Regions from separate parts of the Homo sapiens genome. Here regions 1, 3, 4 and 5 are each linked to region 2. The links are contacts of gene promoters, found by promoter capture Hi-C in human tissues and cell types (Jung and others, 2019). All regions are on one chromosome and are shown on one strand. The core of a region is centred on a gene start or on the middle of the fragment in contact, and the rest is flanking DNA. Distances in the headings are between cores, read along the strand shown. Region 1 has its middle 40 kb from the start of SDR42E1. Region 2 holds the start of HSD17B2 (hydroxysteroid 17-beta dehydrogenase 2). Region 3 has its middle 32 kb from the start of MPHOSPH6. Region 4 has its middle 39 kb from the start of HSD17B2-AS1. Region 5 overlaps MPHOSPH6 (M-phase phosphoprotein 6).

What was found. Contacts are between HindIII fragments. The study calls those that stand out against the background at their distance.
Region 1: a fragment that was not itself captured here is called in contact with the fragment with the promoter of HSD17B2 in region 2 in 3 of the 25 tissues and cell types used here (liver, ovary and thymus).
Region 3: a contact is called between a fragment that was not itself captured here and the fragment with the promoter of HSD17B2 in region 2, in 3 of the 25 tissues and cell types used here (adrenal gland, neural progenitor cells and spleen).
Region 4: a fragment that was not itself captured here is called in contact with the fragment with the promoter of HSD17B2 in region 2 in 2 of the 25 tissues and cell types used here (mesendoderm cells and thymus).
Region 5: a contact is called between a fragment that was not itself captured here and the fragment with the promoter of HSD17B2 in region 2, in 2 of the 25 tissues and cell types used here (bladder and spleen).

Annotation. Positions count from the first base shown.
Region 1 is chr16:81,968,740-81,973,337 of GRCh38, reverse strand. No RefSeq gene overlaps it. Among named protein-coding and RNA genes, the nearest start is that of SDR42E1, 40 kb to the left of the region's middle. The HindIII fragment of the contact is 3,196 bases long and covers 966-4,161 here.
Region 2 is chr16:82,033,402-82,037,872 of GRCh38, reverse strand. HSD17B2 (hydroxysteroid 17-beta dehydrogenase 2) reads right to left here and starts at 2,620. Exons shown (of 5, transcript NM_002153.3): 1 at 2,184-2,620. The coding sequence starts at 2,448. The HindIII fragment of the contact is 4,836 bases long and covers 913-4,471 here.
Region 3 is chr16:82,136,125-82,140,788 of GRCh38, reverse strand. No RefSeq gene overlaps it. Among named protein-coding and RNA genes, the nearest start is that of MPHOSPH6, 32 kb to the left of the region's middle. RefSeq lists an enhancer at 772-1,359. The HindIII fragment of the contact is 3,486 bases long and covers 735-4,220 here.
Region 4 is chr16:82,103,829-82,108,113 of GRCh38, reverse strand. No RefSeq gene overlaps it. Among named protein-coding and RNA genes, the nearest start is that of HSD17B2-AS1, 39 kb to the right of the region's middle. The HindIII fragment of the contact is 4,940 bases long and covers 1-4,285 here.
Region 5 is chr16:82,151,555-82,156,065 of GRCh38, reverse strand. The region is part of intron 2 of MPHOSPH6 (M-phase phosphoprotein 6); the gene reads left to right. Among named protein-coding and RNA genes, the nearest start is that of MPHOSPH6, 16 kb to the left of the region's middle. RefSeq lists enhancers at 3,188-3,482, 4,279-4,423 and a cis regulatory region at 4,351. The HindIII fragment of the contact is 4,298 bases long and covers 1-3,613 here.

The DNA of each region.
Region 1 (4,598 bases), core at 1,314-3,813, 64 kb after region 2:
TTTCTTTACAATTCTAGTGGATTCCAATTTTCCTTCTCCAATTAAAGCTCAGAGAGTTTAGGCACTACTTTGCTATTTCCAAGTGGCTGAGGCATGTTAAAAACCTCTAATCCACCACCTTGGAAAAAAAAAAAACACTAATTCACTAAAAGCTTTTATGTGGCATATGTGTTTCATATTATCAATTTCCTTATGGAAAAGCATAATCTATTAATGTAGAGAACTGCATTGATAGGTTTTCCAATATTAAACCATTACTGGATTCCTGAGATTAACTCTACGTTATGAACAAGTGAACATTGGTTTGCAAATATTTTTCAGGATTTCTACTCTATTTAACAGTGAGATTGGCATCATCCTCCCTCCCTTTCTCTCTGTTCCTTTCACTTTTCTTGATTTTCCCTCTCTTCCTTGATTGTCCTCTACCCTCCTAAAATGAGCTTAGGAGGTCTCTTTTTTTTGGTCTGTCACCTTATAATTTTTATTCAATAAAAATATATTCTGTAGTCAGGAATAGTGGTTCATGCCTGTAATCCCAGCACTTTGGGAGGCCAAGGCAGGAGATAGCTTGAGGCCAAGTTTGAAAACAGCCTGGGCAACATAGCAAGACCCCATCTCTACAGAAAATAAAAAATAAATTATCCAGGCATGTGGCTGCATGCCTTTAGTCCCAGGTATTTAGGTGGCTGAGGTGGGAGGATCATCTGAGCCTAGGCGTTCAAAGTTACAGTGAGTTGTGACCCTAACATTGCACCCCAGCCAGGGTGACATGAGCAAGACCCTGACTCAGAAAGCTTTCACGTGTGTGTGTGTGTGTGTGTGTGTGTGTGTGTGTGTGTGTGTGTTCGTGTGTTCCTTCTCTTTTGGGAACAGAAAGCCCAGACACAGATCATTGAAATTATCCAGCCAGAGGAGCAAAAACAGGAAGAAGAAGAGAAGTGGGGGGAGGGGGAAGAAGGGAGAGGTAAGAGGAGGGGGAAGGAGAGGAAGAGGAAGATGAGGGAAGGAGAAGGAAGGAAGAACAGAAGGAAGGAAGAGGAAGAGAAAAAAGCCTCACAGACTTATAGGACACCATAAGCAGACCAAAATACTCATTATGTTAGTTCCAAAAGTAGAAGAGATAAAGAGACAGAAAGCTTCTTTAAATAAATAATGTCCAAAAACTTGTCAAATCTCTGAAAGAAAATGGACCCAAAGGGAATAAACTCAAAGAAGTCCATATTGAGACATCAGTTGTCAAAAGTCAGAATTTTGAGAGCAACAAAAGGGACTAATTACATACAAGGGAACTCCCATAAGAATCAGTGAATTTCTCAGCAGAAACCTTGCAGGCCAGAAAAGAATGGGACAGTATATTGGGAGTGCTGAAAGGAGGGGGAGAAAAGGTTGTTCAAGAATACTGTATCTGGCAAACTGTCCTTTAAAAGCAAAGGAGAAATAAAGACTTTTTCAGATAAAATTTGAAGAAGTTCATCACCGCTAGGCCTGAATAACAACAAATACTAAAGTTCTTGAAGTTTAAACAGACTCTAAGCAGCCATACAAAAGCATATGAAAGTATAAAGTTTGCTGGTAAAGGTAAGTATATAGCTAAACACAGAATACTATATTGTTAGTGTATACATCACTTTTAATTCTGGTACAGATGTTAAAAGCCAAAAGTATTTAAAAACTATGAAAATATGTAAGGGATACACAATATAAAAAGATAAAATTTATGACATAATTGACAAAGTTTGGAGGAAAGAGTAAAACTGTAGAGTTTTTCAATGTGATTACAGTTGTTATCAGCTTAAAACAGATTGTTACAACTATAAAATGTTTCATGTAAGCCCTATGTTAGCTACAAAAATTACAAAAAATCAACAAAGGAAGACAGTGAAAGAAGAAAAGGGACAAAAGAGCTGCAAGACAGACAGAAAATTATTAACAAAATGGCAATAGTTAGTCCTTTCCTATCAATAATTAAATGTAAATGTATTAAACTGCCCAGTCAAAAGACACAAAGTAGCTGAAGGATAACAAGATTCAACTAGATGCTGTATATAAGAGACTGACTTTAAGTTTAATGACACACATATACTTAAAGTGATAGGATGGAGAAAGATACGCTAAGCTACTAAAAGAGGGGTGACCATACTTAAACAAAATAGACTTTAAGTCAAAAGCTGCTACAAGAGACAAAGAAGGACAGATAATGATTAATGGGTCAGTTCACCAAGAAGATATAATAATTGTAAATATGTATGTACCAAACATCAGAGCACTTAAATATATGAAACAAACATCGGCAGAACTGAAGGGAAAAACAGCATCGCAATAATAGTAGGAGATTTCAGTAATGAATAGAACATCTAGACACAGGATCAATAAGGAAACAGAGGGCTTGAAAAATACTATAAATCAAATGCACCTAATAGTCATATACAGAACATTCCACCCAACAGTAGCAGAATACACATTTTCTCAAGTGCACACAGAAATATTCTCCAGGACAGATCACAAAGCAAGTCTTAACAAACTTAAGAAGATTGAATTCTCAAATTTATTTCCAACTACAGTGAAATGAAACTAAAAATCAGTAGGAGAAGGAAAATCAGAAAACTCATAAATATATGGAAATTAAATAACACCTACTCTGGAACAACCAATGGGTCAAAGAAGATATAAAAAGGTAAATTATAAAATATCTTTAGACAAAACAAAAACATAACTCATGGAGAAAAAAGCAGTAGGAAGAGGAAAATTTGTGGTGATAAATTCCTACCTCCCAAAAGAAGAGCTCAAATAACCTAACTTCTATACCTCAAGGAATGAGAAACAAACAGACTAAGCCCAAAGATGGCAGAAGAAATGAAATAATAAAGATTAAGGTAGAAGTTATCAAAGTAGAGAATAGAAAATTAAGACTGAATCATAAAGAAATAGAACATCTGAACAGACTTTTAGCTAGTAAGGAGATTCAATCAGTAATCAAAAACATCTCAAAAAAGGCCCAGGACCAGAAGATTTTGCTGATGAATTCTATTAAACATTTAAAGAACAATTAAGACGAATGCTTCTGAACTTTTAAAAAGTAGAAGAGGAACGAATACTTCCGAAGTCATTTTATGAGGCCAGCATTACCCCAGTGCCAAAGCCAAAAACAGACATTACAAGAAAAAAATAATGCAGACCAATATCCCAGATATAGATGCAAAATTCTTAACAAAATACAAGCAAACCACATTCAATAGCACATTAAAAGGACATACACCATGATGACTAAGTGGGATTTAGTCACTTATAAGAGACTGGAGAGTATCCCTAGGACATAAGAATGATTACAAATATGCAAATCAAAAATGTGATACACCACAGGAACAGAACAGAGGATAAAAATTACATGATCATATCAATAGAAACAAATTGCGTTTGGCAAAATTCAACACCCTTTTGTGATTAAAAAAACTTAGGAAACTAGGTGTATTAGTCCATTTTGTGTTGCTATAAAGAAATACTTGAGATTGGATAATTTATTTTGGCTTTCAGTTCTGTGGACTGTGAAGCATGGTGCCAGCATATGCTTCTGGTAAGGCCTCATGAAGCTTTTAGTCATGGTGGAAGAGAAGGGCAGCCAGTGTGTCATATGGCAAGGGAGGTAACAAGAGAAATGCCAGGCTCTTCTCAACAACCAGCTCTTAAATGAACTAAGAGTGAGAACTCACTCATTACTGTAGGGAGGGCACCAAGCCATTCATGAGGGATCTGCCCCCATGACCCAAACATCTCCCACTAGTCCCTACCTCCAACACTGGGAATCACATTTCAATATGAGATCTGGAAGGGATGACTATCCAAATCATATCACTAGGAATAACAAGGAAATTACCTCAACATAATAAAGGCCCATATATGAAAACACGACAGTTAACATATTCAAAGGTAAAAAACAAACTTTTCGTCTAAGATCAGGAAAGAGGTGAGGATGCTCACTCTCACCACTTCTATTCAGCATACTAGTGAAGGTTCTAGCCAGAGCAAGTAGACAAGAAAAAGAAATAAAAGGCACGCAAACTGGAAAGGAGGAAGAAAAATTATCTTTGTTCACAGATAACATGATTTTAGGTGTAGAAAATCCTATAGATTCCACCAAAGGGGAAAAAAACTGTTAGAACTAATAAATTCAGTAAAGTTACAGGATTCAAAGTCAGCATACTAAAATTAGTTATGTTTCTGTACACCAACTACAAGCAATCTGGAAAGGAAATTACAGCAATCGCATTTATAACAGCGTCAAAAAGAAAACACTTAGCAATAAACTTAACCAAGGAAATGAAAGACTTGTACACTGAAAACTATAAAATATTGCTGAAAGAAATTTAAAACACAAATAATGGAAAGACATCCTATGTTCATGAACTGGAAAACTTAATATTGTTAAAATGTCCATATTACCCAAAGTGATCTACAGATTCAATGTCATTCCTACCAAAATCCTAATGGCATTTTTTACAGAAATAGAAAACACAATCCTAAAATTCATATAGAACCACAAATGATCCCAAATAGCCAAAACAATCTTGAAAGAGAACAAAGGTTGAGGTCTCATACTTCCT
Region 2 (4,471 bases), core at 1,371-3,870:
GTTATCACAGCTTTTTGCCCAGCCCAGGAATCTATGCATTTGACGTGGCTGTAGACTTGTTCCAACCCTGGGATTTCCTGTGTGTTTTCCTTTGGCCCAAGCAGTTTTCCATGTAACACAGTCCTTGTGGCTGTCATTTTTAATGGTTGCACATTGTTATACCCAGAGGATGTACCATATATTATCACCCTTTTTGTTGCTTTTGATATTTAATATTAATCTAAATTAAATAATAAGATTGTGTTGAATGTGCCATTTTGGTTTTGCTTCTACTCTTTTTTTCATATTTCAGATTATGTCTTCAAAATAAATTTCCAAGACTTGAATTATCAGATAAAGGAACCATATGTATGGTTTTGATGTACACTGCCACATTTTTCTTTGGTCCTGCCCCACCACAATGCGTGCTAATCTATGTTATCATAAGCCAATCTGGAACAAAGGTTATTCCAAACTCAGCGTGGCTTCTTCATTCTTTAAAGAGTTGTGGTCTAACAAAATGAATTCATTTTAAATTTCTCGATTTCATACAAAGGTCTTGAGGCCTTGTCTAGGATGATATGAGCACATAGCATTCCTCATAAAAATGACAGAGAACTTGAAAATAACAAAGAACGTGAAAGTGACATTTCAGTCATCCTTAAATATATGTAGTGCTCATCTTAATTCTAAGCTTTCTTCATTGCCATAAGCATTTCATGCAGGGATTAGTCCTTGAGCTTGAGTTGCCTAATTGATTCAATCATCCTCACTCAACACTAAATGCACGGCACCTTTCAGTGGCTGATGTGGGCTCACTGAGTTGGGTGCATATTTTGTGAGCATTAATTAACACCTGCATCTTGAAATGCAGAGGATAAAGAATGTTGACAAAATAAACAAGCAAGAAGGGATTCCCATTTTCTCAGCTACCCTGTGGTTTGCCTGAGCTCATCCTAAGGTTTCATAACAGAACAGGACACAGAACAGGAAAATTGAGACTCTCTTACAAATTTCACCGATAAGCCATTTGAGAATTCTAATAAAAAAGTGGAAAATCCAGCCAGACTCCCAGATACATGATTCCAGGTGATATCAGACATTCTTGCAGATAAACATCCCATTGACTGAATTTTCTCCCTCTAAACTTTCAAAAATTAATTTAAAGAAGCTTCTTTTCTGTGGCTTGTCTAACCCCAACAAGCACCAATTTGCATTTTGTTTCAAGAAAGCATTTTACTTTAACCCAAAAACAAAGTCTGTTTCTCTGCAAATTGTCAAGCCCCAGATTTTCTCCCAACCACATCCCCATGCCATTCTTGCCTTCACCCTGAGGATCATGGTCAGAGGGGTGATGATCTCCCCCAAATGATTCCACAGCTGATTTTTTTTTTATTTGGTAGGGCTTTCTGGGTTAGGATAACGCTGGATAATCCTAATTACAGCCCTATCCAAGCTTAAACTCCATAACCAAGCAAAAATTTTACAACTCAAAGAAATTTAATTTGGCCTCACACTTGCAATGGGGAAACACACACACACACACACACACACACACACACACACACACACAAACAAGGGAAAAACTGGCAGCTCAGCTAACAGGCAACTGAATGTTGGACACGATGCCAAGTTGGTCCAATTAAGAAACATTAGAGGTCTAATGAGGAACAGTTCAGACAGGACACAAGGTTCTTGACAGCAGCCAAGCAAACTGCAAAGTCTCCAGCCCAGGTAAGTGAATCCCTTCAATATTTCAAAACAGCAAGGGACAAGTAGAACTTGGCTTGTAAGCGTTCTTGCATACCTAGGGAAGAAGAGTCCAGGTGGAGAACCTGGCCAAACAATGATGTCAGAACAAAAGTCCATTTAAGCCTAAAAAACAATCTATGGGACATTCCTGGGTACAATAGAACACATGAAATATTGCCATTTTGCCTATTAATATTTATTCCTGGGAAATTTTAACAAAATCATTGTCTGGGTGCACTTCATCCTCTCCTTCCCTCCCACTACCAGCCCCTTCAAATGCACCTCCTGGAAAAAACGGAACGAAAACAGTGTCATGAAAAATACTTGGGTGAGGGCTTTCATTTACTCCATGCCAAGTATTTTATTTTTAAGCCAGATTTGACAAAGTCCTGCTAAGGCAAAGCAAGTTTCAGATCATACCCTCAGTGAAAATTGTAGCACCGTCTGCTTACCTGTCACCAGGACTGCCTTCTGATCCACAGGTAACAATTCTTGGCCAGATAAGTAAGTATACATGAGGAAGCATGACACCGAGAAGAGGATCAAGCCCCAAAAAGGGGACAGGATGAGCAGGCAGACTGCACAGAGGCCTGCCAGGCAGACCATCCAGCTCCACAGCTGCCCTGAGCTCTTCTTGTATTTGCAAAATACTGTCCCACATAGTACTGTGGGGACAGCCAGGCAGATCCATGCTGTGTCCGAGAAGAAAGTGCTCATTCTCAGTGACTTGCTGCACCTTCAAGTGCTCAGGGCCAGTGAGTCTAGCGGGCAAAGGCTGGCTGGAGGCAGCCTGAGTTCTGTGAACAGAGAGTCAAGAAGGGAGGGGAGAAAGCAGCCCCAGCCCCTTTCAACTGAGCATAGATTAAGCATAATCATATTCCCAGTGGGTAATTTAAACCAGTGTGCACTTCAACATAAATACCAAGGCACTTCCTATTTGACCGCTCTCGCCCCTCCCCACCCCCTGCATACACAACACATGCACATACTCACCCACAAACACACACCTTCTATTTTTTTTTAATGACAGTCCACCTCTGGAGCGATGACTAACTGGATAATAATTGACAGAATTTGAACTGCATGGAGAATAACAGGAAGATCCTCTAGCTCACAGGAAAATACTGTCTTCTTCAAGAGCCTGCAGTATGTCTGGGTGCTGAGTCCTTTTTCTGACTCGGGAGTGAGTGAGAGTGTGTGTGTGTGTGTGCGTGTGTGTGCATGCATGCATATAAATATAGGCAATCGATGAAGTTTGGAAAATAGATTCTGGAAGGGAAGGCACCTCTGATCTGGTCCATAGCTTCAGGACTCCTACAAATCCCAACTGAGGCAGGCTGAAGGGTTGGATGGAGAGGGATATGAAAGTAGAGGAAGATATTCCTTGGTAGAGGAAAGTGCTTTGGTCTTGCCTGAGTGGAAACATGCCAGGGAGAGATAATAATGACAATTAACTAATAGCGGCTAATATCTATTGGTAGTTTTTTGTGGCAGAGGCTGTGTATAGCTGCTTATTTGTTCTTTCTCTTTATTGTAAGCCTATTCTATGCCAGCCTCCATTCACTGGGACTCCTCTCATCCTCCTTGAATACAATATCCTTATGAAGTTGATTCTAGTATTATAGTAATTTTACAGGTGAGGAAACCAGGACACAGAGAGGGTAAGAGACTTAGTCAAGATCACACAGCAGTGGAGTCTTGCAGCCTGATCTCAGAGCTGTATGCCCCTAAGCATTCTATTCCACTGCCTGCTTTAGGCAAAAAAAAAAAAAAAAATTAGTGCATTATGTGCTAGATCTTTCCTACTTTCACCCCATTTCAACCTTATAAAACTGTTTGAGGTGGGTGTTATTATTATGGTCAGTTTACAGAGAGAAAAACTGAGGCTGGGAAAAAATAAATCCCTTACTCACAAGCGGCTTAAAAGCCAGCACTCTGCAACTACAGCACCACCTAACCGTGCTAAGCCAGAGAGGGGTCACCGCACCTGGGCTCAGGGCGTGCCCCATGTGGGCCACATGCCTGGCTGGAGGGAGGCAAGGTTGTGATAAAGGCTGGACTTTGGCATAGCTAGAGAGAAACATTCTCTATTTGAGGTCAGTTTCCCTCTATTCAAATCTAATCTTAACTCCACTACTTATTAATTACATAGTCTTGGGAGGGTCACTTCACCTCCCTAGATCTTCATCCCTTTGGCTATAAAATAATATCATATCCTGCCTGGAACAGTAGAAGGAACCTCATAAATGCTAGTGATTCATGTTTTTTAAACAGGAGGAGAATGAAGAATAAGAGGAAGTCGTGTAAAACAAAGTGTCCAGTGGAGTATAGACTTGTCTCAAAACACGTGCTGGAGTTAAATGAGGGGCAGGAGGAGGAAGGGAGAGGATGCCTTTTGTGGATGATGTTGGGGAGGCAGGACTCGGGAAGGAAGGGACCCAGCAGCGTATCCCCTGTAAAGGGAGGTGAGGCAGAGCCCACCTGGGCTCAAAGCCAACTCAAGACCCAAGGGAGAAGGGGTGGGAAGCAGTGTCTTGTGAACCATTACTGTGCTGTGGGACTGTGGGGTTGGACAACAAGGCAGTTATGAGGGTCTGCGTGGAGTGATGGCAACTGTTGTCTGCCCTCCCAGCCACATGGACATTTGAGTCAGGGAGACGTTACCAGCTCCAGGCCAGGAAGCTTAGGGGCAGGGATCTGGAATTGCCTTTGGCTAGCCCTGAACTCTCCCTCCCTCAAC
Region 3 (4,664 bases), core at 1,228-3,727, 100 kb before region 2:
AGTTGCTCTTCTCGAGGAGTATCTTTGTGGCGTTCTCTGTATTTCCTGAAACTGAACGTTGGCCTGCCTTGCTAGATTGGGGAAGTTCTCCTGGATAATATCCTGCAGAGTGTTTTCCAACTTGGTTCCATTCTCCCCATCACTTTCAGGTACACCAATCAGATGTAGATTTGGTCTTTTCACATAGTCCCATATTTCTTGGAGGCTTTGCTCATTTCTTTTTATTCTTTTTTCTCTAAACTTCCCTTCTCGCTTCATTTCATTCATTTCATCTTCCATCACTGATACCCTTTCTTCCAGTTGATCGCATCAGCTCCTGAGGCTTCTGCATTCGTCACGTAGTTCTCGAGCCTTGGTTTTCAGCTCCATCAGCTCCTTTAAGCACTTCTCTGTATTGGTTATTCTAGTTATACATTCTTCTAAATTTTTTTCAAAGTTTTCAACCTCTTTGCCTTTGGTTTGAATGTCCTCCCGTAGCTCAGAGTAATTTGATCGTCTGAAGCCTTCTTCTCTCAGCTCGTCAAAGTCATTCTCCATCCAGCTTTGTTCCGTTGCTGGTGAGGAACTGCGTTCCTTTGGAGGAGGAGAGGCGCTCTGCGTTTTAGAGTTTCCAGTTTTTCTGTTCTGTTTTTTCCCCATCTTTGTGGTTTTATCTACTTTTGGTCTTTGATGATGGTGATGTACAGATGGGTTTTTGGTGTGGATGTCCTTTCTGTTTGTTAGTTTTCCTTCTAACAGACAGGACCCTCAGCTGCAGGTCTGTTGGAATACCCTGCCGTGTGAGGTGTCAGTGTGCCCCTGCTGGGGGGTGCCTCCCAGTTAGGCTGCTCGGGGGTCAGGGGTCAGGGACCCACTTGAGGAGGCAGTCTGCCCGTTCTCAGATCTCCAGCTGCGTGCTGGGAGAACCACTGCTCTCTTCAAAGCTGTCAGACAGGGACATTTAAGTCTGCAGAGGTTACTGCTGTCTTTTTGTTTGTCTGTGCCCTGCCCCCAGAGGTGGAGCCTACAGAGGCAGGCAGGCCTCCTTGAGCTGTGGTGGGCTCCACCCAGTTCGAGCTTCCGGGCTGCTTTGTTTACCTAAGCAAGCCTGGGCAATGGCGGGCGCCCCTCCCCCAGCCTCGCTGCCGCCTTGCAGTTTGATCTCAGACTGCTGTGCTAGCAATCAGCGAGACTCCGTGGGCGTAGGACCCTCCGAGCCAGGTGTGTGATATAATCTCGTGGTGCGCCGTTTTTTAAGCCGGTCCGAAAAGGTTAATATTCGGGTGGGAGTGACCCGATTTTCCAGGTGCGTCCGTCACCCCTTTCTTTGACTCAGAAAGGGAACTCCCTGACCCCTTGCGCTTCCCAAGTGAGGCAATGCCTCGCCCTGCTTCGGCTCGCGCACCGTGCGCGCACCCATTGACCTGCGCCCACTGCCTGGCACTCCCTAGTGACATGAACCTGGTACCTCAGATGGAAATGCAGAAATCACCCGTCTTCTGCTTTGCTCACGCTGGGAGCTGTAGACCGGAGCTGTTCCTATTCGGCCATCTTCGTTTGAGTCCGCCTCTGTATTTTAATGCCCTTTGACTTGGTTGCCAAGTCATCCCGTTCATCCCTTTAGTTGCCAAGTTACTGTCCTCTAGGGGAGGGCCCCTATCTTATTTCATTTGCTCCTGTGTCTAGCAAGAAATATGGCCTATATTGAAGCTTTTAGTAAATATTTCTTCAGTAAGTGAGTGAATGGCAGTTAGAATGATTTAGAAACCAACTGGCTCACAAAGTCTATTTAAACTATAGTACTGAACAAAGACCAAAGGAGAAAAGCAAAGGCTATCGATTCTGAGCTTGCTATAGCAAAGGAGTCGGCCACCATCACTAGCGTTTGCGCAGAGACTCAAAGGCAGGCAGAGGAATGCAAAAGCTTTAAGACCCACGGAAGAGAAGGCTCAGGTGTGCTGATTGGACTGTTGGCGTGAAGAAGCTGGAGGTAAGCTAACTACGTGCAGGGCACCCTGTGTGATAGGTAAGAGGTACATGTTTGACTTTCTTTAGTTGGTCCTAAGTTGAAAGCAAGGGCAAAATTAGGGAAGCTTCAGTTATTAAGTCCTGGCCATCTGGGGCCGATCGTTACAGAAATTATTTACCTTCCAAGATAGCAATCTGGCTTCCTGCAAGTGTGGTTTATATAGCAGGCTGGATTCCTGGGTTGCTTACTGTAAATAGGGGTTGGTTTCTTGGGCAGGTTGCTGCAGGTGACGGGTCAACATTCTGTTTTTATATATGGTCTGGTCATTGTATATTCAGTTTCTCAGTCCTCAGCTTTATTTCTAATCATAACATGCAATGTTTGATCGTGTCTGTATGGAAATGTGCACCCAACTTAATAGGAAAACGCCACCAGTGGGATCAGGAATGTTTGTGGCTCTAGCCGTCAGCAGAGGTGCCTATTCTGGAGGCAAGTACTTCAGCAGTTAGCACCACAAAGACAAAGCCCACAGATCAAGGGAACTTTCACTATCCCAGATCCTGAGGGAAAAAACTGAACACCACACGGATATAAAATTCAGTTTAACAGATAACCATTGTTTCACGCCGACATACAACCATCCAATCACTGACATTCCCATTGGTTGATGAGCTTAATCCAAGTGGGCTTTCTGGGGAAAGAGAGATGATGTAGCTTTAATGGTAGTTTCAAGAAAATCCCTAGAGACCTCTCACTTTTTAATATGTCTTTTATAAAGGTATCAGTTTTCCCCCCTTGCCTGCTGAGACACATTTTCGCAGTCTTGGCCTCAGAGAACACGCAGATGCCTTATCATCTGAGTCCAGGGTGTCTTGGCAGCCTCTTAAAGAGAGACTGGAGTCTGACCTCCCATAGAAATAGGCTTGCATAAGCAGTTTATTAAAATTATTTGATGGTTCTGTAAGTTCCTGCAGGGCTGTAAGCCCTACTACAGATGGTTTACATTTTAATTTTAATCGTTATGGAAGCCATTAACCCAGAATCTTACCTTGTTCAGCTCTGTTTGGAAAAAAAAATCATTTGCACAGAGAGGTCACTGCTTTTCAAACCAGCAGCTCAATGTTATATACCAGAGTTTCCTTCCAATATATTTTGCTTGTTTTTTTTGGATGGCTTTGTGTTTTCATTTTCCCCAGGGAAAAGATGCACTGGGTTTCAGGATACTCAGGAAGTAAGAGTCCTGGACTCTTACTTCGTGCAAAGTTGGACTCATTCATGCAAAGTTGCACTGATCTCTGTAAGATATATTTGATCTGGATGGTATCTCTTGCTAATATCTCTTTCATCAGCATTGTCTGGATGGGGAGAGCAGGGGTGACCCTACATAACTGCAAAATTGCGGCAGGAACTAACAAGACCATTGAGGTCATGAAGATGACAATCTGCCAAATATTAGCAGACTGCATGTTACTGTGACATCCCTCCCTCCTCTCCCGATCATGGCAGGTTCTCACCTCCACCACTCTTCTCTGACCTCTGCTCTGATCCCTGTCCCTGATGGATAGTTCATCATGTATAACACCTGTATCAAACAAACGCTCTCCCTGAACCGAATCCTTCCTGCTTTCACCTCAGAGCTTCATTTAACCTCACTAGGATGGCCACAAGTCAAACATAGAGAATGACGCAGGAACAGGTCTGCAGTTCAAACCCTAGAGCGCATTCTGTAGTCCATAGGAACAGAAAACGAGCTATGTTAGGAGGGTGTGGCACAAAGCCACACTTGGCTATCTGAGCTCCTATCAGGCATTCAGTCAAGAAGTTAGCAGATAATGACGGGAACAGGACATTATCTGCAGGAAAATAAAGCAAGGTGGAAGCAGCTGCTCCGATGGGAGCTCCCCAAAAGAGTAACCATTGTGACAACCGTGCAGTGGAGACCTGTCTGTAAATGCCAGGAACATTTGCGACGTCATTCACCGTAACGATAATAACAACTCAATAATAAATACTGAGTCTTGACACTGGGCCAGGCACCGAATTATGGGGGGGGGATGTAAAGTATTACCATGATTTTACCCATGAAGAAACAGAGGCACAGAGACATTTGGTACACCCAATGTCACACAGCTTTTAAGTGATAGAATCAGGATTTGAACCCAGATCAACTGATTACAAAGCCAGTGCTCTGTCTCTTATGTCATGCTGTTCCTGACCAAGCCAAGGGTCGGGCTACTTATTCTCGCAGCCCAATAACGAGATGCAGATGAACTGGGAGAGAATCAAGTTTTTATTTCTGTAACCAGTTACAGGGAGAAGGCCTTGAAATTATCCCCAGACCAACTCAAAACTACAAAGTTTTCCAGAGCTTGTATACCTTCTAAGCTATATGTCTACATGTAAGTGTGCATTTGTGCATTCATCTAAAGACATAAGTGATTAACTTCTTTTCATCTATAACTAAGGTCTGAGTCTTGAAGCTCTTCCTCTGGAACCTGAGTAAATTTACTTAACCTAAATGGGTCCAGGTGCTGGGGTCAATACCTTTGTCTTGTCTCCTGCTAAATCATGGAGGTTTGGGGAGTTTCTTTAGTACCCAATAAGGCTTGTTTGTGGAGGCCTGGGGAGTTTCTTTGGACCCCCCAATAAAACTTATTTACTCCTAAACGGGTCCCGTTAAGAATTCCTTCATTATCCTGTCATGATTTAAGGCCCA
Region 4 (4,285 bases), core at 637-3,136, 71 kb before region 2:
ATCTAATTCTACCATCATTTTTTAAAGGACACTCTATTTATATAACAGCTTCTCGTCTCCTCTCTGAGACCAGCTTTGCCATCCTGCTGGTTATCTCATTAATGAGTTAAATAAAACTTTGATGTCTGCTCATTGTATGTTTGTATGAGATTTTAACATTTTCTGAAAATTATTTCTTGACCTTGTGGAAAGAGGAGGGAGGTAGCATGAAAGTCATGAGTTTTCCCTTCCTGGCCTGGGGTCCAGTGGAGGAGAGGGGCCTGAGGATGTGGCCTACACAGGCTTGCACTGTGGACCTCTTCCCAGGCCCTCCATGCTAGGGAGCCAACCCTGTAGAAAGAAATGCACGTGTGTGATCAGTGCCTGCTTGGACCACCCAGTTATCTACTGATCAGAAAGATCATGTTGCCTTTCAAAATCATTTAGTGACCTGCTGAAACTTTACCACCATTGTATAAGGAAATGATGTATTGCTTCAAGCCCAGCTCAAAGAAGTAAGCTTAAATAAAACTTTACATAGTCCAAAGCCTTCTCCGCATCACAACATCTTTCCTAATGCTTTCTGCTCATGTTTTGGTTTTTCTTCCATCATTACTATAGCACCCTATAATTAGCCATATGAATAACAACTTATTGTGTGCCTTCTAGAGCCAAGTAAGCTCTAAGTACTTAATATAGATTAACTTATTTAATATTGTAACCGCTCCATGAGACAGCTGCTATTCATCATCATCCTCTCAGCCGGGTGTGGTGGCTTATACCTGTAATCCCAGCACTTTGGGGGGCCGAGACAGGCAGATCCCTTAAGGTCAGGATTTCGAGACCACCCTGGCCAAAATGGTGAAACTCCATCTCTATTAAAAATACAAAAATTAGCTGGGAGTGGTGGCAGGCACCTGTAATCCCAGCTACTCGGGAGGCTGAGGTGGGAGAATCGCTTGAACCTGAAAGGAGAAGACTGCAGTGAGCCGAGATTGTGCCACTGCACTCCAGCCTGGGTTACAGAGCAAGACTCCATCTCAAAAAAAAAAAAAAAAAAAAATTATCCTCTCCACTTTACAAATGACAGTTCTAAGGCACTAGGAAAAAATCAAGTAAAATCCCCAAGATCTCATAGCTCATCAGTGGCAGAACTGTGACTTGAACCCAGAAAACTGGCTTCAAAAAGAAATGAACCACTGCGTAATTGCTACTTTTTAAAAACTGAAGTTGAACAAGTTCAGATTAAAAATTTTGCTCAACTCCACTATGTCCTAGGTGTGTGACTTTGGACAAGTTAACTTTGTAAGTCTGTTATGTTATCTAAAAATTGGGATGAGAATACACCTACTTCATGGAATCATTATAAGGATTGGATTGGTATATCCAAGTACAGTTGTCCCCGTTATTCACAGTTTCACTTTCACTGGTTTCAGGCATCTGAAGTCTACCATGGTCTGAAAATATTAAATGGAACATTCCAGAAACAAACAATGTATAAGTTTTAAATTGCACTCTGTTCTGAGGAGCATAATAAAATCTCACTCCATCCTGCTCCCTTCCACCCTGCCCTGCATAGGGGGGATTCATTCCTCTGTCTAGTGTTTTCACTCTGCCAGCGCTCCCCACCCATTAGTCACTTAGGAGGTATCTCGGTGATCAGATCAACACTTGCTGTATTGCAGAGCTTGTGTTCAAACAACCCTTATTTTATTAATAATGGCCCCAACATGCAAGAGTAGTGTGGCTGGCAATTTGGACATGCCACAGAGAAGCTGTAAAGTGCTTCCTTTGTGTAAAAAAAAAATGAAAGTTCTCAACTTCATAAGGAAAGAAAAAAATTGTACGCCGATGTGGCTAAAAGCCACAGTAAGAACAACTCTTCTGTTTGTGAAATGGTGAAGAAGGCAAAAGAAACTTATGCTAGTTTTGCTGTTGCACCTCAAACTTGAAAAAGCATATATAGGTCTGTACTACCCCCTGTTTCAGGCATTCACTGGGGGTCTTGGAACATACCCCCTACGGATAAGGGGGGATGACTGCGAAATTGCTCAACACAGTCCCTGGCATGTAGAAAGTCATCAATGATTGTTATCTTAAAATAAAAGAAGAAAAAAACAGGCAGTAGGGATTTTTATCAGGAGGAATAGGAGGTATAAGCCTCATTGTTTGTTCATATTAGGTTGGTGAAAAAGCAATTGTGGTTTTGCCATTTAAAAAAAAAAATGTAATGGCCAAAACTACAATTACTTTTGCACCAACCTAATAAACGATTCTCCTGTGACCTAGTGGGAGGGAGAAGCATTAGCCAACCAACAGTGAAAGGCCCCATTTGGATTAGGCTGTTCCTGATGTCCTGGGTACAAATTCAGAGCCATGTTGACCTTCTCACTATCTGGCCTCAAGCTAGAAAGGACAGACCAAAGTGACCTCTTGATCTCGTCTTCATTTAGATACAAGAGAAGAAAAGTATGACGATTACTACCACATTCATGGAGCCCTTATTAAATGCCAGGCACTGGCTGAACCCTTTGCATTATCATCACAGTTAATCCTCACAAACAACTTTATGAGATTATCGTTACCACTGCACCTGTTTTTAGAGTAAAAAGCAAAAACGAAACCTTAAGATGCAGAGAAGTTGAGCAGCTTACTTAAGGTCACCCAGCTGTTGAACAGTAAGCCCGAGATTTGAACCCAAGTCTTTGTGTCTTATTCAGTTGGTGCTTCTGTAATAAATTACCATAGACCGGGTGGCTTCAATGACAAACATTTGTTTCTTACAGTTCTGGAGGCTGGAAGTCCGAGATCAAGGTGCCGGCAGACCCGGTGTGTGTTGAGCACCTACTTCTTGGTTTGCAGACGGCCGTCTTCTTGTCGTGTCCTCACATGGTGAAGGGAGAAAAGCAAGCTCTCCCTTGTCTCCCTTGTCTCCTCTTGTGACAGCACTAACCTCATCACAAGGACTGCATCCTCACAACCTAATCACCCCCCAAAGGTCCCACCTCTGAATATCATCCCATTGAGGGTGAGGATTTTGACACATGGATTTAGGGGGCATGCATTCAGACCATAACACCAGGTGACTCCAAAATGCCCATGACATACTGCCTTGTTGATCTGCCACCAAGAATGTGACATTTGGAGCAATATTAACCAGGACTGAAACCACAAAAACAAAAACAAAATGCATCTGGCATGCTGGGGTTTTGGGGAAGGGTGAGCAGTTCTTTGACCTGAAAATAAGGAGAGCCACCTTGGGTTCCCACAAGTCCTGTTTGCACATTGCCTCATCCCTCTTCATCCCAGCAGGTGAGGCAGAGTCCTAGCCAGAGAGAGGGGAGGGATGGGAACCTGGAATGGTGCACTAGGGGAAACTCACATCCCATCATTTTCACATGTAGGGCCTTTTAGAGAGTGAGTTCTTCTTGGAGCCATTCATCCTGAGGACCCATGAAGATGTGGGCCTGAGTGTTAGCCATAAGCCTTTGAAAACACTTTGGCAATGATATTGATGATAATGATGATGATGGTATAAATTAGAATGCGGTGCTTGCAAGTAACGTAAAGTGAATTCTGACTGTCTTTTACCAAAAGGAGAGTATTTTTGAATGTATATATTATTCACATAATCAAGGCAAGCTTGGAGGACTGAGCTTAAAATGTTGGATTAGGGGGAGCCGAATGTTTATAAAGGACCAAGAAATGGGAGACACACCTTCCATTTGTGGGAGATTGTCAGCCTCACCCTTCATGTTGACATTCCATTCCCTAAGAGGGTCATATGTTTCTTCATATGTCCAAGTCCTGGAGCTAAAATGCTGGCAGAGGCAGGATGTAGACCTTATGTCTTCTATGGTTGGAAGAAAATAGCTGCTTCCCATCAAGATCTCACATCTGGGCAATGACCCCCAAGTAGGAAAGTAAGTGGATACTGCACAGCCACACCCCCTCCAAAATATCCAGCATCATAATGGCAATGGCGTGTACTGGCCTAGCTCTCATATAATTTTCAGGCCTGTTTTGCAACTCATCTTAGATATTCAACATGGAAGTGTGTGCTTTTTGTTCGTCAGTGAAAATTTCTTGCCTGAACATTTAAGCCTTACCAAAAAACCCTACCCAGGCCAAGAACAGCATGTTTCTATTTAGAACCTTCTCTATGTGGAATTAGTTCACCTCTGACAGTCAGGAGACAGAGCACAGGGCAATGCTAAAGAGAGGGGTGATGTTGTGTCCAGCAATGAATCATTACCTGTAATCAAAATCGGAGAAAGAACAGAAAATGGAGCTAAACAAAAATCTC
Region 5 (4,511 bases), core at 215-2,714, 120 kb before region 2:
GGTAAGATATTTTCTGTTTTCTTCTAGAAATTTTGTAGTTATAGTGCTGACATTTTTATCCATGGTTTGCCTCTAACTTTTTGTGTACAGCATGAGGTAGAAATCAAAGGACATGTCTTTCATAGATAACCTGTGATCCTATTAACTTTTTTTTTTTTTTTGAGACAGAGTGTCACTCTGTCACCCAGGCTGGAGTGCAGTGGCGCAATCTTGGCTCACCGCAACCTCCACCTCCCGGGTTCAGGCGATTCTCCTGCCCCAGCCTCCTGAGTAGCTGAGATTACAGGTGCTGCCCCACCACACCCGGCTAATTTTTGTATTTTTAGTAGAGACACTGTTTCTCCGTGTTGGCCAGGCTGATCTTGAACTCCTGACCTCAAGTGATCTGCCCACCTTGGCCTCCCAAAGTGCTGGGATTACAGGCATGAGCCACTGCACCTATTAACATTTATTGAAAAAATTTTCTTTGCTTATTGCATTGTTTATCTCTAAGTCTGTCATAGTTTTATATATCATAAATAGAGTTTTTTCAAACTTATTTGTTGTGTGTATGTATGGGGTGGAGGGGTGTGTAGAAATTGAAGGTTGTACGTTGACTTCGTATTCTGTAATGCTAAATTGACTCACTGACAAGTAGTTTTTTTGTGGATTCCTTAAGATTGTTTACATGCATAATTATGTCATCTGCAAAAAAAGACAGTTATACATTTTATCTCCTCTTGTTGATTTATTTCATGGCTAAGGACCCAATACAGTATTGAATAGAAACGACAAGAGTAGTCCTTGAATTGTTTCTGATCACAGTTGGGAAAGCATTTACTTTCTCTCTATTACACATGAAGTGCTGTTTTCGTCAATGCCCCTGATCAGTGGTCAGAGATACTCCTTTATTTTCGTAGTTTGCTGAGGGTTTTCATCATAAATGATGTTGAATTTTGTCAAATAATTTCTTATGAGAAGATCATGATTTTTATTTTGTTAATGTGTTGAAAACTATTGACTTTTGAATATCAGAACAGCCTTGTATTTCTGACATACACTCTACTTGGTCTTCATATGTAACATTTAAAATTTTTAAATTCAATTTGCTGACATTTTATTGATGATTTTCACATCTATATTTAAAAAAGATATTAGACTGTAGAGTTATTGTAATGTCTTTGGTTTTGGCCATAAAATGAGTTGGAAAGTGTTCCTACCTCCTCTTCTTAGTTCTTGGTTTGTGTAAAATTGAAATTATTTCTTCCTTAAATGCTTGGTGAAATTCACCAGTGAAGCCATCTGGATCTGAAGCTTTCTCTGTGAAAAGATTTTTAGTAATGAATTCCATTTATTTGATAGATATAGGACTGATCCAGTTTTTCACTGCAGTTTTTTTTTCAGTTATATAATTTATTTTTTTAAATTGTTTTTTCCCTTAATTATATAAGTTCTATTGGTGTTTTTTTGCAGTCTCTATTTCTTAATTCAGGCTTTCTGTTTCTTTCTTCATTGCATGCATGTTTTCGTTTAAATCCTTGAATAAATTTACAGTAACTATTCTAAAGTCCATTTCTACTAATTTCATTTTCAGTTGTTTTCTTTCTTTCTATGAGGGGATTACATTTTCTTGCTTCCTTGCATGTCTAGGAATTTTTTATTGTGTGCTGTACATTTGTATGTATTACATTGCTGACTACCTGGATTTTGTTATTTTTCTTAATAGAGTGTTGAATTTTGTTTCATTAGGCAGTTGACTTACATGCCAATCAGCTTGATTTTGTTAGGGTGTGTTTTGTAGCTAAATTGTCTCTACTCCTAAGGTGTGGCCTTTCTACTAAATATCACAGAGTGTTTAGCTTGTTCTCTCCTCTCTGGCTAGGCAGAACTCAAACATTTCCTTGCTCTGTGCAAGCTCTGTTATTTCTTCAACATGCAATTGCAGGGTAAATTTTTTTTCCCCAGGTATGGTAGGCTGGAAAATGGTCTCCCAGATAATATCTAGGTTTTCATCTCTGAAACCTGTGAGTGTTACCTTATGTGGCAAAATTTACCTTGCTGGTATATGAGTAAATTACAGATCTTTAGATGAGAGATTATCCTGGATTATCTGGGTGGGCCCTAAATGTAATCACTTTTCCTTATAAGGAGGAGAGGTGAGGAAGATTTGACACACAGAAGGCCTTGTAACCGTGGAAGCTTCTGGAGGGATCCCAGGCCTACTAACATCTGGATTTTGTACAGAACTGTAGGAGCATAAATTCTGTTGCTCTAAGCCACCAATTTTGTCAGCTTAAATTTGTTACAGCAGCCACAGGAAGCTAATGCAGCAGGTGTTCTCCCAGAAATCATCTCTCCAGCAGTTACTTTTTCCCTAAGTCTAAAGACTCATCCTGCACATGTGCAGCTTCATGGTCAGCCAAAGATTCAAGGGAACCCAGTATGCAGGTCCTGAATTCCATAGTGTAGCTCCCTTTCAGTGGTATCCTCACCCAGATATTCCAGCCACCACCATAACCCCAAACTTCAGTTTGTGCCTTTATTTTTTTCAACTAAAGCCCCAATGAAACAGTTTGTCTCTTAAGCTCAGCAAGACAGGGTTTTGTGTGAGTCCCCCACTCCCTGCTCCACAATCTGGAAATTGCCTCCAGGCAGAAAGCTCCGCATTCATGGGGTCTACTTCATTTGATTTTCTTCTCTCAGGCATCACAGTCATATGCTTGGATTTGTTCATTATCTGAAAATGGTCATTTTATATTTTGTCCTGTTTTATATAATTATGGTGCAGGAAAGCTAGTTCCATACCAATTACTCCCCTACAGCTAGGGATGGAATAACCTGCTTTATTTTCATCCATTGTGTGATATAAATGTTTCATGTTTCATTCATTATTTGGCCCCTCTTTCTATAGACTGTAACCTCCAGGAGAGCAGAGGCTCCTTTTTTTTCTTTTTTTTTGGAGGTGAGTGTTTGACACTGTCACCCAGGCTGGAGTGCAGTGGCACAATCTTGACTCATTGCAACTTCCACTTCTGGGATGCGAGCAGTTCTCCTGCCTCAGCCACCTGAGTAACTGGGACTACAGGCATCCGCCACTGTGCCCAGCTGAGGCTCTTTTACTGGTGGCTGTTTCCGCAGTTTGATTTAATACACACAGTTTGGTTTAATAAGTGTTTGTTGCATAAGGGAATCTTTATGAGAATCAGAGCCTACTCCGGCAAACAAGCCTTAAAAGCCACATGTTTGCTTTCCTGCCATGCTTTAGGGTTTATGGCCAGGCTGGAGATAGATATGTCACCTTGGATTTACGGTCATGTGGTGGTGACTCAGCAGAGAAATTCTGCTGCAGACAGAAACATCCTGGTCCAGGGAACGCAACCTGCCCCAATGCCATCAGTGGTGTCGTGCTCAGCCCCGTCAGCAGCAACAGTGGTTTTCCTAGGGTCATTCTCTAGCATGATTTTGGTTCTGGTGCAACCACCTAGCGACCGTTATTTCTGCCCGTCTTCCAATTCTGCCCCTTCAGCCTTCCCGGTGATTCTGAGATGCCCAGTACAGCTGGCTCTTTGTGTCACAGATTTTGATATCTACAAGGGGTCCTGGAACCAGTCCCCCTTGGAAATGAAGAGCCTACAGTGTTCTTACAGTAAATTCCTTCTCTGCTGAAGTCATCCAGGGTCAGCCTTTGGTGTTTATAGCTAAGAGCTCTGACTGATAACACTGTTAAAGCTGCTCAAGCCTCTGATTTCCCACTACTTCTCCTGGATTTGTAATAAGAATTTGGTGGGGGCCAAAATCTCAGAAGTCACCACTAAAGAACTTATCCATGTAACCAAAAAACCACCTGTTCCCCAAAAACTATTGAAATTTTTTGAAAAAAATCTGTGTATAAGTGCACCACACAGCTCAGACCTGTGTTCAAGAATCAACGTAAATGCAAGTACAAAAAAGACTGGAAGGAAATATTCAAATATACTAACAGTCCTTTTTATCCTCTTGGTAAGGAGCTTACAGGCAGTTTATAAACTCATACTTTATTCTGCTTTCCAAATTACGTTCCTTAAAATGTGCTGCTTTGATAATTAGAGAATGGAATTTTTGAAATCCCTGAGAACGAAAGACAAAATATGCCAGAAACTTTATTAAAATGATTTGGAGTAGTGTGTCACTGTATACTGTATGTGTATTTTTACATACATATTATTTCCTTTCTGAAAAAGAATTGGAAAAAAATATGGTGAGGGGATGTAAACACAAAAGAAACTTTGCTTCAACTTTGGCAAATTCAAGTTTATTGTCAATACTTTAGATCTTTATATTATGTAGATATTTATGCAAATTAAATGTGGTGTTTAAGAGAGGCTGTGCCTCTAGCTTGCTGCTCTTGTCTCCTAATGCCTTTGCTGACCAAATTAATCAGATTTTATTTTTAACCCTAAGTTAGAAATCTTACTGTATTTTTACTTCATTCTACTGAGAACCATAGGTTGATTATTTTTTTTATTCAAAGTGTTGGCTTTTGTTTGCTGTGC